Regions from separate parts of the Homo sapiens genome. Here region 1 is linked to region 2. The links are contacts of gene promoters, found by promoter capture Hi-C in blood cells and fetal thymus (Javierre and others, 2016). All regions are on one chromosome and are shown on one strand. The core of a region is centred on a gene start or on the middle of the fragment in contact, and the rest is flanking DNA. Distances in the headings are between cores, read along the strand shown. Region 1 overlaps INTS7 (integrator complex subunit 7). Region 2 holds the start of NENF (neudesin neurotrophic factor).

Region 1 (5,252 bases), core at 947-3,446, 400 kb after region 2:
CGCCACCACGCCCGGCTAATTTTTGTATTTTTAGTATAGACGGGGTTTCACCATGTTGGCCAGGCTGGTCTCCAACTCCTGACCTCAGGTGATCCGTCCGCCTCGGCCTTCCAAAGTGCTGGGATTTACAGGCATGAGCCACCGCGCCCGGCCTTAAATGTGTTTTTCAAACACTTTCCTCCTCATTCTGATACATTTCTTTCTTATTCCTCAGTGAAAGTTACAGGTCAGGATAATATCTAATATCCCTACGAGTTCTAAGGACATTTTCTACCATTCTGGTGCAGCTGAGCTTGTCTCATGCTGACAATAGGATAGTGGTTGTGGAACAGGGATAAAGATGGGGCACTGAAGAGGAGTCTAGAATGGTTTAATTCCTCAAATTTTGCAGTTGTAAGAAAAAAACCACAATTTTTCCTTTTTAAAGAAGAGTTGAAATGAAAATATTTTATATCTATAGGAAAGAAATCAGGTGTCAATCTTAGACACAGAGTAAGTGATCATTTGCACTCCTCCCAGCAATGCCTGGCGTGAGTGTTTTACAGGTGAATCTCAGGCTCAGAAAGATGACTTGTTCTTTTTCATCTCATCTGTAGTAACTTTTAAAGCTGTTAGGAAATTAAGTTATAGAAATAGCCAGTTTCGTGTAGAATATAGTTGAGTATTTTAAATATTGAGTCATTTCATCTTGTACCTGTTAAAGTATTTCTGTTTTGTGAGCTAAAGGTCAGAAGGCTACAAGTTCCAACTCTTTTTTTCGTTCCCAAACTCCAAGGAATACTGTTTCTGAAATATCTCCCCCACCTCAGCATACACACTCAGACACATGACTTATTTGATCGGGCTTTGTACTAGGAACATGGCAGTTAATGAGACAAAACTCCTGCCCCTATAGAGCTTACATTCTAGACAGCAGATGCAGACACTCCGCAAATATAGCAAACGTGACAGTTAGTGATACATATTATAAAGGAAAATGAAGCAATGAAAGGGACTGGAGAAAACTGATCTGGGGCTGGAGTTGATTTCTTATTTTATGAAGTATAGGCAAGAAAGACCTCCTCAATCAAGTGGAAGAACAGCAAGTACAAAGGCCCTGAGGTAGAAGCCTCCTTTGCATGCAGTTATCTGGAGCAAAGTAATAGGCAATGAGTATAGAAAGATAACCAGAGTCAGTCGGGCGTGGTGGTTCACGCCTGTAATCCCCGCACTTTGGGAAGCTGAGGCGGGCGGATCACGAAGTCAGGAGATCGAGACCATCCTGGCTAACATGGTGAAACCCTGTCTCTACTAAACAAAATACAAAAAATTAGCCAGGCGTGGTGGTGGGCACCTGTAGTTCCAGCTACTTGGGAGGCTGAGGCAGGAGAATGGCGTGAACCTGGGAGGCGGGGCTTCCAGTGAGCCGAGATCACACCACTGCACTCCAGTCTGGGCAACAGAGCAAGACTGTCTCGAAAAAAAAAAAAGAAAGATAACCAGAGTCCCGTTCAGGTAGGGCCGTGCAAGCCATCAAAAGGACTGGCTTTCATTCTGAGTGAGAAAGGAAACCATGGAGGATTTTCAGCAGGTGTGTGACATGATCTGACTTTCCTTTGAAAAGTATCAGTCTGGCTACTGTGCTGAGAATAGACTGAAGTGGGGAGGGTCAGGGACCCAAGTAGGGAGACCAATGAGAAGGCAACTATAACAATCCAGGGAAAAGAAAATAGTGGCTTAGACCGAGATGGTGACACTGAAAATGTGTGAAGTGCTGAGATTCTGGATATACTTTCAAAGTAGAGCCAAGAAGATTTGCTAATGGATTAGATGAGGATATAAGAGTAAGTGGTCAAGAAAACTTAGAGGTTTTTGGTATGAGCTACTGGGAGGATGTATGTATTGTTTACTGAAATCAAATCAGTTTGGGTCATGTTAAATTTGAGATGTCTCTTAGACATCCAAATGGAGATGATTAGTCAGTTAGGCATAAGATGTAACCTTTGAACGCTATTTTAAAGAAATATTTTGTGGCACTGGTGTCCTTAGAAACACACTCAGGAAATGCTGCCATTCATAACCTGTTATATATTTATAACTGTTGTACTTTATTCTGAGCCTTTTGAGCAAGCATTGGCAGTAAGCTGATTGTTTCTGATCTCTATAGGAATAAGTGAATACTATTTTGAAGCTGACTCAATTCCATTACTTTAGGATGTAGTTAGTAACAGGAAAATCATCCTTCATGTGATAGCCATTCATTTACTCAACAGATATTTACTGACCACCTGCATTGTCTCAGGCTCTATACTCAGACTAGGGGCTATGTTGGCAAACAAGACATCTTTAAGGAGATTGCATACAAATGTAAGGAGATGGACAATGCTAGATCAAATGTGGTGCCGTTAGTCAGGACAAGAAGTTGGATTTTGTGCAGAGTGCAATGGGAAGGCATTGAAAGTTGTAGGCTGATGGCCATGCTGCTTGAGCTTCTGTAAGACTGAGCATACACAAGCAGAGTTAAGTGTCATAATCAAATACATTACAGCTTATGTTTATCTGACACATTTCATGATATGATCATTACTATACATAATTGGCAATATAAAGGATGCATCTCACAAAAATTAGTGTAACTTTTTCACTAATATAATTTCTTAGTCTAAACATTTTTAGATCAGCTGATGGAAGGTTATCCTGATGATTTGGGAAAACTTATGCAAGATCTCCTTCCCCCTGGGAAAAGAGGAGTCTCTTAAATGATATTATTCAGCCTATCTGCCTTCTGCAATGTTGACCTTGGAAAGGATGAGATGAAAGCAATGGGGAAGAGAGCAGTGACTCATTCCCTTTCTTGCAGCTGATGCAATGGGAAGGGAGGAAATATAGAGGATAGATTTGTTACTAGAGGTGCTGGTGAATGTAATGCTGTGTGAAAAACCTTGATGGTGTGCTTAATGAAAAATTTAGTTATGAAATAGAGAAATGATGTGAATCAGGACAACTGTCTCTGCACTCTAATTTCCCCCTTAGACGGTGTCACCTCACCTGTATTCCAAAATACCTGAATTCTCAGACCATCAAGAAAGTTTGTCAAGAAAGACCACAGATTGCTTTTACATTATCGATATGGCTCAGATGTTGTTGGTGTTTCAGTAAACAAATATGAGGCCTTTGGGGAAGTATCTTCATAGGCCCTCCTCAAGAGAAAGGCCTCAGCAGCCAGATTTGTTCCAGGTGACTAATTCCATACCATAACTGATTGATTCAGAAGTAGGCATGTGACCCACACTGAGTCAAATTCTTTCTCCTGAGAATCTCTGCTGCCAGACCACACTTAGTCTGAGAGTGTTGAGAAGCGGACCTATAAAATCATATAGAATTAGGCCGGGCGCAGTGACTCACACCTGTCATCCCAGCACTTTGGGAGGCCGAGGCGGGCGGATCACCTGAGGTCAGGAGTTCGAGACCAGCCTGCCCAAGATGGTGAAATCCCATCTGTACTAAAAATACAAAAATTAGCCGGGGGTGGTAGCAGGCACCTGTAATCCCAGCTGCTCAGGAGGCTGAGACAGGAGAGTCACTTGAACCCAGGAGGCAGAGGTTGCAGTGAGCTGAGATCATGCCATTGCACTCCAGCCTGGGCGACAAGAATGAAACTCCATCTCAAAAAAAAAAAACAAAAAATCATGTAGAATTGAAGCTAAGGTGAGACTCTGGGCAACTTAATGCAACATAAAAACCAGCAGCCTGGTTGGTAATTCCTTGATGGGCTATGAACTAATCCAAAAATTCAAGTTTTTACTGAAACCCACAGACTCATTCTTATATATAACTAAGATTTACTGTCTTGGAATTTGCAAAGTGGGTTATTAAATATTCCTAGAAGTTGGTATCCATAAACTCAAATTTGTTTAGAATTCTAGATTAGTATTCTCATGTGCATACTGGATGATGTTGCATACATCTTGCCATGTACGTTTACAGACATTTTCTGAAATTTGGGGGATGGATGCTGCCTTATTAATGCATCATTAGTTTTCACTGTCATTTTACTTGTTTCTATTTCTGCTTTTTAAATATAAAAATGGGCTTTGCCATCAATTTTTTAAGCTGTGGGTTGTATGTTTGTGTTCATGTTTCTACCCATGTCCCCCCACACACCTTTTATTAATGTATAGATTTTAAGATATGTTCGTGTTATGGTTCAATTTTGAATCATCCTCATCTCTTAGCTAAAGCAAATGTATGTCACAAATTGTCCTAAATTGTGTTTGTTTGGTAATGCTTTATTTGTGGTGTTCTTTGTAGTGGATGTTAGTTATGTTGATGGTTGCTTAATATATTTTGAACACTCTTTTTATGCTTAAGGAATGTCCCATATCATGAACCTTGTCTTACTAAGGTAGAAGCAAAAACTTATTTCCTAGTTTCCCTTGCAAGAGTGCAGGATCTGACTTAGGCTCTGCCAGTCAGACACACCTCCTTCACACTGTCTGATTTAGAAGTTAGAGATGCAAGAAGGAAGAGTTGAAGTGTCCACTCACAGTTCTGCCATGGCAGCAGCAGTATTTCTAGCTTACAGCAGCAACAACAATGGCTACGATATTCCTAGATGACAGCAGAGCTAATTGTTGCATCTGGTGTTTCCTATCAAAGACAGGGTTCTTCCATCCAGTTGGTTGGGTAGTGTGGTATTAGGTGTTCCTAGAAATTTAGCCTTAAAATTGTTTCTTAAGCTTTTAATAAACTCATTTTCTGCCTCATAAGCCAGAGTTAGCTTCTGTTGCTTGCAGCTAAGAACTGCTGATAGATGCTACTTGGAGATTTGTGCTGTTTTGAAAACTTGATTAATGTGTATCCCAAACCCCAAGTTTACCATAATTTATGGTATTCCCCTAATTCCCTAGAATTCATCACCTCAGAATTCCACCATTTAATCACTAATTTAAATGTCTCATTCTTGAATCTTAATCTCTTTCTTTCTAGTTGCTTGCTAGAGATGCATTTTAGCATAGTGGTTAGCACTATAGCCTTTGGAGCTACATTGCCAGAATTTGAATCCCAGCTCTGTCATTTGTCAGCATTGTTGTTTCTTACGCAAATTGCTTAGCTTGTCTGTGCCTGTTTCCTCACCTTTCAAATGGGGAAAATAATGGTACCTAATTTATGTGATTTTTAGTGAGACTTTAATACATGCAAAGTGCTTAAAGTGACTGGCACAGAATAAGCACTTCATGTGTATCATCATTATCATTATGATTAACTGCTAT
Region 2 (5,323 bases), core at 2,005-4,504:
ATCTATCTATATATAGTTGACCCTTGAACAACACAGGTTTGAACTGCATGGGTCCACTTATATGTGGGTTTTCTTCCACCTCTGCCACCCCTGAGATAGCAACACCAACCACTCCTCTTCCTTCTCAGGATGCAGACCTTTATAATGATCCACTTTCACTTAATAGTAAATATATTTTCTCTTCTTTATGATTTTCTTAGTAACACTTTCTTTTGTCTAGCTTACATTACTGTAAGAATTCAGTATATAATACATTTACAAAATACGTGGTAATCGACTATGTTCTTGGGTCTTGTGGTCAACAGTAGGCTATTAGTAATTAAGTTTTGAGCCAGGCATGGAGGCTCACACGTGTATTCCCAGCACTTTGGGAAACTGAGGTGGAAGAGTTGCTTGAGCCCAGGAGTTTGACACCAGCCTGGGCAACACAGGAAGACCCCATCTCTACAGAAAATTTAAAAAATAGCCAGGTGTGGTGGTGCACACCTGTAATGCCAGTAACTGGGAAGGCTGAGGTAGGAGGACTGCTTGAGCCCAGGAGGAGGCTGTAGTGAGCTGTGTTCCTGCCACTGCACTCCAGGCTTAGCAATAGAGTGAGACCCTGTCTCAAAAAAAAAAAAAAAAAAGGAAAAAAACTGTAGTTTTGGGGGTAGTCAAAAGTTATACATGGCTGGGTGCACACCTGTAATACTAGCGGCTTGGGAGGCTGCGGCAGGAGGATCGCTTGGGCCCAGGATTGCCAGGCTCTAGTGCACCATGACTGCCTGTGAAAAGCCACTCACTCCATTCTGGGCGACACAGCAAGACCCTGCCTCTAAAAGAAAAAAAAGTTATATGCAGACTTTTGACTGCATGGGGGTCAGTACCCCGAACTCCTGTGTTGCTCAAGGATCAACTGTATAGATATAGATATCCAAATGGTTCTGTTCCCTGGTGAAACCTGGACTAATCCAAGTATCTTACGAACAAAGTGGAGACTCAGAGAGGTTTAGTAATTTGCCCCAAATCACACAGCAGAACAGGGACTCAAAACCAGGTATGATCCAATGTATTATACAAATTGTCACACTTCTGAGTGAAAGGGTGTTATTAATAATTATCCCTGGATAACAGGCATAGACCAGAACAATCTAGGTCAAACAACAGCGCAGCACAGCTTGAACCCACTGCACTCAACTGCCTCTCTCGTCCCTCGCTCCCCTCCTCTCTCTGGCTCCTTCCTTCCACCTACAGAGATCCTCAGGCTCCACTCCCAAAACAATTGTTTCCTACCCCTGTTTCCATCTCAAGGTCCTCTCTCTCTCAGTTAAATTTCAATCTATAACATCAACATCAAAAAACCAAGGGTCTTTTCTCAGTCCTCATCTTGCAGTTCTGGCACTCTTGCTGTAACCTCAGTGGTGAACTCTCTCTTTCCTTAGATTCTTGTGCCAGTGGTCCCAAAGATCATCGGGTCAGTTGGAGAGTCCCTAGAAGGAAGATTCCAAGAACCCAGCATATAGTTCTACTCACAGCTGGGAAGGAAAAACACAGAGGGAGAATCTAGGGGAATCTATGTGCAGGTTTCCTATGCTCTCTCCCTCCCATGAGGAAGAGCACACTCTTCCCCCAGCAACAAAACTTGACAGTATGTGCCATTCTTCTGGCAGAACATTCCTCTGCTAGAGATGCCCATTAGACTCAGCACCCAAGGTTTTCACTGGGGGCTGGTCACATGGGGCACCCTCTGCCTAGCATATACAGTGTTCAATACTAACCACACCATCTGTATATACGGCCTAGGCAAGTGAGTCCACCGTTATTGGGTAGGGAAGGGTGAGAAATCCAGACACTAGACAAGTCCCACCCTTGCAAGTAGGCTTTTCTAAGGAGAGCAGGCCTGCCATGTTAATTCTTTTCTGCACGGATGCCTGGACTCTGAACCATCTGGTTCCCTCTGCTACCGGCAAAAAGGCATCCCTTAACATCCTCACATCCCAGCCATGTCTCCCTCCCTCGGTGTCCTCACTGACTCATGGTTCTAAATGGCCCCTTCACAAATGATGCCCAAACTGGCATCACTGACTAAGGGCCAGGTTTCTGATACCCCCATGCAATCCTAGTCCATATAAGGCCAATTAACTCAGGAATTAGCGAGACCAGGCCAGAGGGTTTTGAAAAACATCAGGCCTCTTCCTGCTCTACCACTAACAGGTGGCAGGCCTCAGTTTCCTTATGTGTAAAAGCAGGAGATGGGTTCCTGCCAGCTCTGAAATACTATGGTACTATGACCTCCCCCCAATGCCGTTCCCCCGCTCCACATCTAATATCAGCCCCCTGTTGGTCCTTGTCGTGCGGCTCCAGTCCCAACCAACCCAGGTGGGCAGGTGGTTGTGAGTTTTCTGGACGCCTCTAGACTATTGACGTGTGTGGGTGTGTGTGGGCGGGGGGGTCTCTATTGACGTGTGGCGGGGGGGTTGTGGGGGTCTCTAACCTCCAGTCCACCCTCTGCGCTCACTTCCAGCTTTGGCTGAGCCCCAGGGGTACATGACCTAAAAGTGGGTTTGAGGAGTCCGATGCAGAGGCCTGGGATACAGGGGCAGGAAAAGGAAGTGCAGGCAAAGACTGGCTTATCCCAGGACCTGTCTCAATTCCCACCTAACCCAGGGAGCAGGCTCTGCTTCCCTCCCTCCGTCCCCCGCCACTCCCCACTATGCGTGGGCACAGTAAACGCCTCGGCTGATGCTAACATGAAAACCAAAAAGTTCTGAGGTCTGTACGCAGATCATCAACGAAAAGGCGGCTAGAGGGGAAATCTCCCGGGGACCGAGGGAGAAGTTCAGGGTGGGGTGTGCGGGCAAAGCGGAGCGCTCCGACTGTTGAGGACTCGTCCTCACCCCTCGGCCATCCTTCGGGGCCTAGAGAGAGGAGGCCCCCCGCCGGCCCAGGGCGCCCGCCGCGGGCCGCGCGTCCCCCAGAGCTTCCTGGGCCGCCGGCGCCTCCTGGGTCCCCGCTCGGCTCGCCGCAGATCGGACGCCACCCCGGGTCCCTCGGCCCGCGACACCCCCGCCTACCTCCTCCCCGCCATAGCGGGCCAGCTCCTCCTCGGTGAAAAGCCGCACTGGGGGCCCCCGCTCGGCAGGGCGCGGTGTCTGCCCGGCCCGGGCTGTGGGCAGCCCCGGGGCCAGCGCCAGGACCAGGGCCAGCGCTGCCAGCGGCCGCAGCCGCCGCCGCGGCGCGGGGCCCACCATGGTGAGCGCGCAGCGCAAGGCAAGGCCGGGCCAGGGCGGCGGGGCCCTAGCACGCCCGCCCAGCGTCCCGGAGTCCCGCCCCGCGCCCAGAGCCTCCCCGAGGGCGGGGACCCGAGAACTCCCGCCCTTCGCGCGCCTCCTGCGCCCCGGGGTGGGGCTGGCCGGGCTACTCGGGCCACGCAGCTGGAACCTGGAAATTAGGATTGGAATCCTGAACTCCTAAATCCAAACTACAGACTGGAAGTTACCAAAAAATGTCACAGTGGTTCCTTGATCAGGTAGAAAGATGACAGAGCCCAACATACCAGAACCTAGAAAGGTATATTTCTAAAATAAGACCCCAACTGTCTTAATTCGCTTTTATTTTTGGCTGATTTTTTTTCTTCCTGGTTGTGTTTAAGTTTCTGGTTCCCAAGGAGATTTTTGCAAAGGGTAGGGTGCTGTTACCGATACGCCCTGAAATAATAATAGCTAACATTTGTGCCAAACTTTGCTCATTACTTTATGCAACAAATATTTTTGAGTACCTCCATGTACCAGGTCACTGGGGACTCACCACTGAACAAGACAGATCCACGCCCACGTGAAGCTTACATTGTGTGGGCAGATAGACAATAAGATGCTAAGTAGTATGTTAGATGGTGGTAAATACTAGGGAGAAAAAGTAGGGCAAAGAGATAGGGAGCACTGGGATGGACATTTTATTTTATTTTATTGTTATGTATTTATTTATTTTTGAGACGGAGTCTGTCGCCTACGCTGGAGTGCAGTGGCGCCATCTCGGCCCACTGCAACCTCCACCTTCCGGGTTCAAGTGATTCTCCTGCCTCAGCCACCAGAGTAGTTGGGATTACAGGCACCCACCACCACGCCTGGCTAATTTTTTTTTTTTTTAATTTTTAGTCGAGATGAGGTTTCACTATATGCTGGCCAGGCTGGTCTCGAACTCCTGGCCTCAAGTGAACCATCCACCTCATCCACCCAAAGTGCTGGGATTACAGGTGTGAGGAACGGTGCCCGGTTATGGGGATGGTCATTTTAAATAGGCAGGTTAGGGAAGGCCTCACTGAGAACAGGGTATTTGCATAAAAATCTACAGGAGGCGAAGGAGGCGGTCTAGAGGGAAGAGCACTTTGGTCAAAGGATCAGGTGCATAAATGCGGAGGAATGAGGATGCCCGGCTTGCTGGAGGATCAAGGGAAGGTAAGAGGGGTAGGTGAAGTCAGGAAGGAAGCGGGTAAGGGAGTGGGGGTGGATCTTGGGGGCTTCACAGGTTATTTTCAAGACTGGCTTTTACTTTCAAGACTGGAATAGAGGAATTAACAGAAAAAGGGTCTCATTCCAGACCCAAGAGCAGGTTCTTAGACGTCCACGGCAAAGAATCAGGGCAAGTCGCAGAGCATAGTAGTTAAAATAGTTCATTAGAAACTACTCCATTTCTAATAATAGTACTACTGTGTTTCTGAGTAGTATCCTTGCTTTGAAGTAGTACTAAGCAAGTATTGTTTATATAGGAGCACCTCTGCCTTCAATGTAATGCTTGCTTTTATAGGGCTAAAACTAGCGTACTTCATTACAAAAGCCTATGATCAGCTTGTTACAGACTATTAGTATTGTTATTCTCTTGTGTAACTATTGACTTCAGGGAGAATTTATGGGTGTACTGTTATCTTTAAAGTGAAACTCATTTTTAAACTAAGAATGCCTTTTTCCATTATCTCATTTCCTCAACCATAAACATCTTGTGAAGAGTGCCTATCTTCCTGGGAAAGTCGCCCAGCAGGTTTGGCTTTATCTGACCTTTATTCAAGATGGAATCACTCTGGTTAGGACACTTCTGACATAATTCCCTCCTCCTTTTTACAAGGAGACCTTTAATCCTAAGGGGTGCAGGGGGACAGAGATCCATCTTCAGTAACTTCAAGCTGAACAGAAGCGATGATATTCCTGCCTAACCATTAGGATCCCTTTGCCCAAAGTAGAGAGCTAGCCAGTCAGAAAGCATCTGTATAGTGAGGACCAATCATACATAATTCTAAGTCCCAGAAAAAGGTGAAATCTAGAAAATTAACGTGTTAAATTTAAAGAAGCAT

Evidence for each region. Contacts are between HindIII fragments. The CHiCAGO score rates a contact against its expected background, and 5 or more counts as called.
Region 1: a contact is called between a fragment that was not itself captured here and the fragment with the promoter of NENF in region 2, in 7 of 17 cell types (non-activated CD4 T cells, naive CD4 T cells, fetal thymus and 4 more). The highest score is 9.3, in non-activated CD4 T cells.

What each region holds. Positions count from the first base shown.
Region 1 is chr1:212,028,701-212,033,952 of GRCh38, reverse strand. The region is part of intron 1 of INTS7 (integrator complex subunit 7); the gene reads left to right. Among named protein-coding and RNA genes, the nearest start is that of INTS7, 4.2 kb to the left of the region's middle. RefSeq lists an enhancer at 3,103-3,152. The HindIII fragment of the contact is 5,049 bases long and covers 1-4,720 here.
Region 2 is chr1:212,430,851-212,436,173 of GRCh38, reverse strand. It overlaps NENF (neudesin neurotrophic factor), which reads right to left and starts at 3,254. Exons shown (of 4, transcript NM_013349.5): 1 at 3,054-3,254. The coding sequence starts at 3,230. LOC105372906 (a long non-coding RNA gene) reads left to right here and starts at 3,357. Exons shown (of 3, transcript XR_922577.4): 1 at 3,357-3,549; 2 at 4,330-4,433. RefSeq lists an enhancer at 2,659-2,748, a silencer at 2,909-3,468 and a cis regulatory region at 4,892-5,179. The HindIII fragment of the contact is 20,197 bases long and covers 1-3,821 here.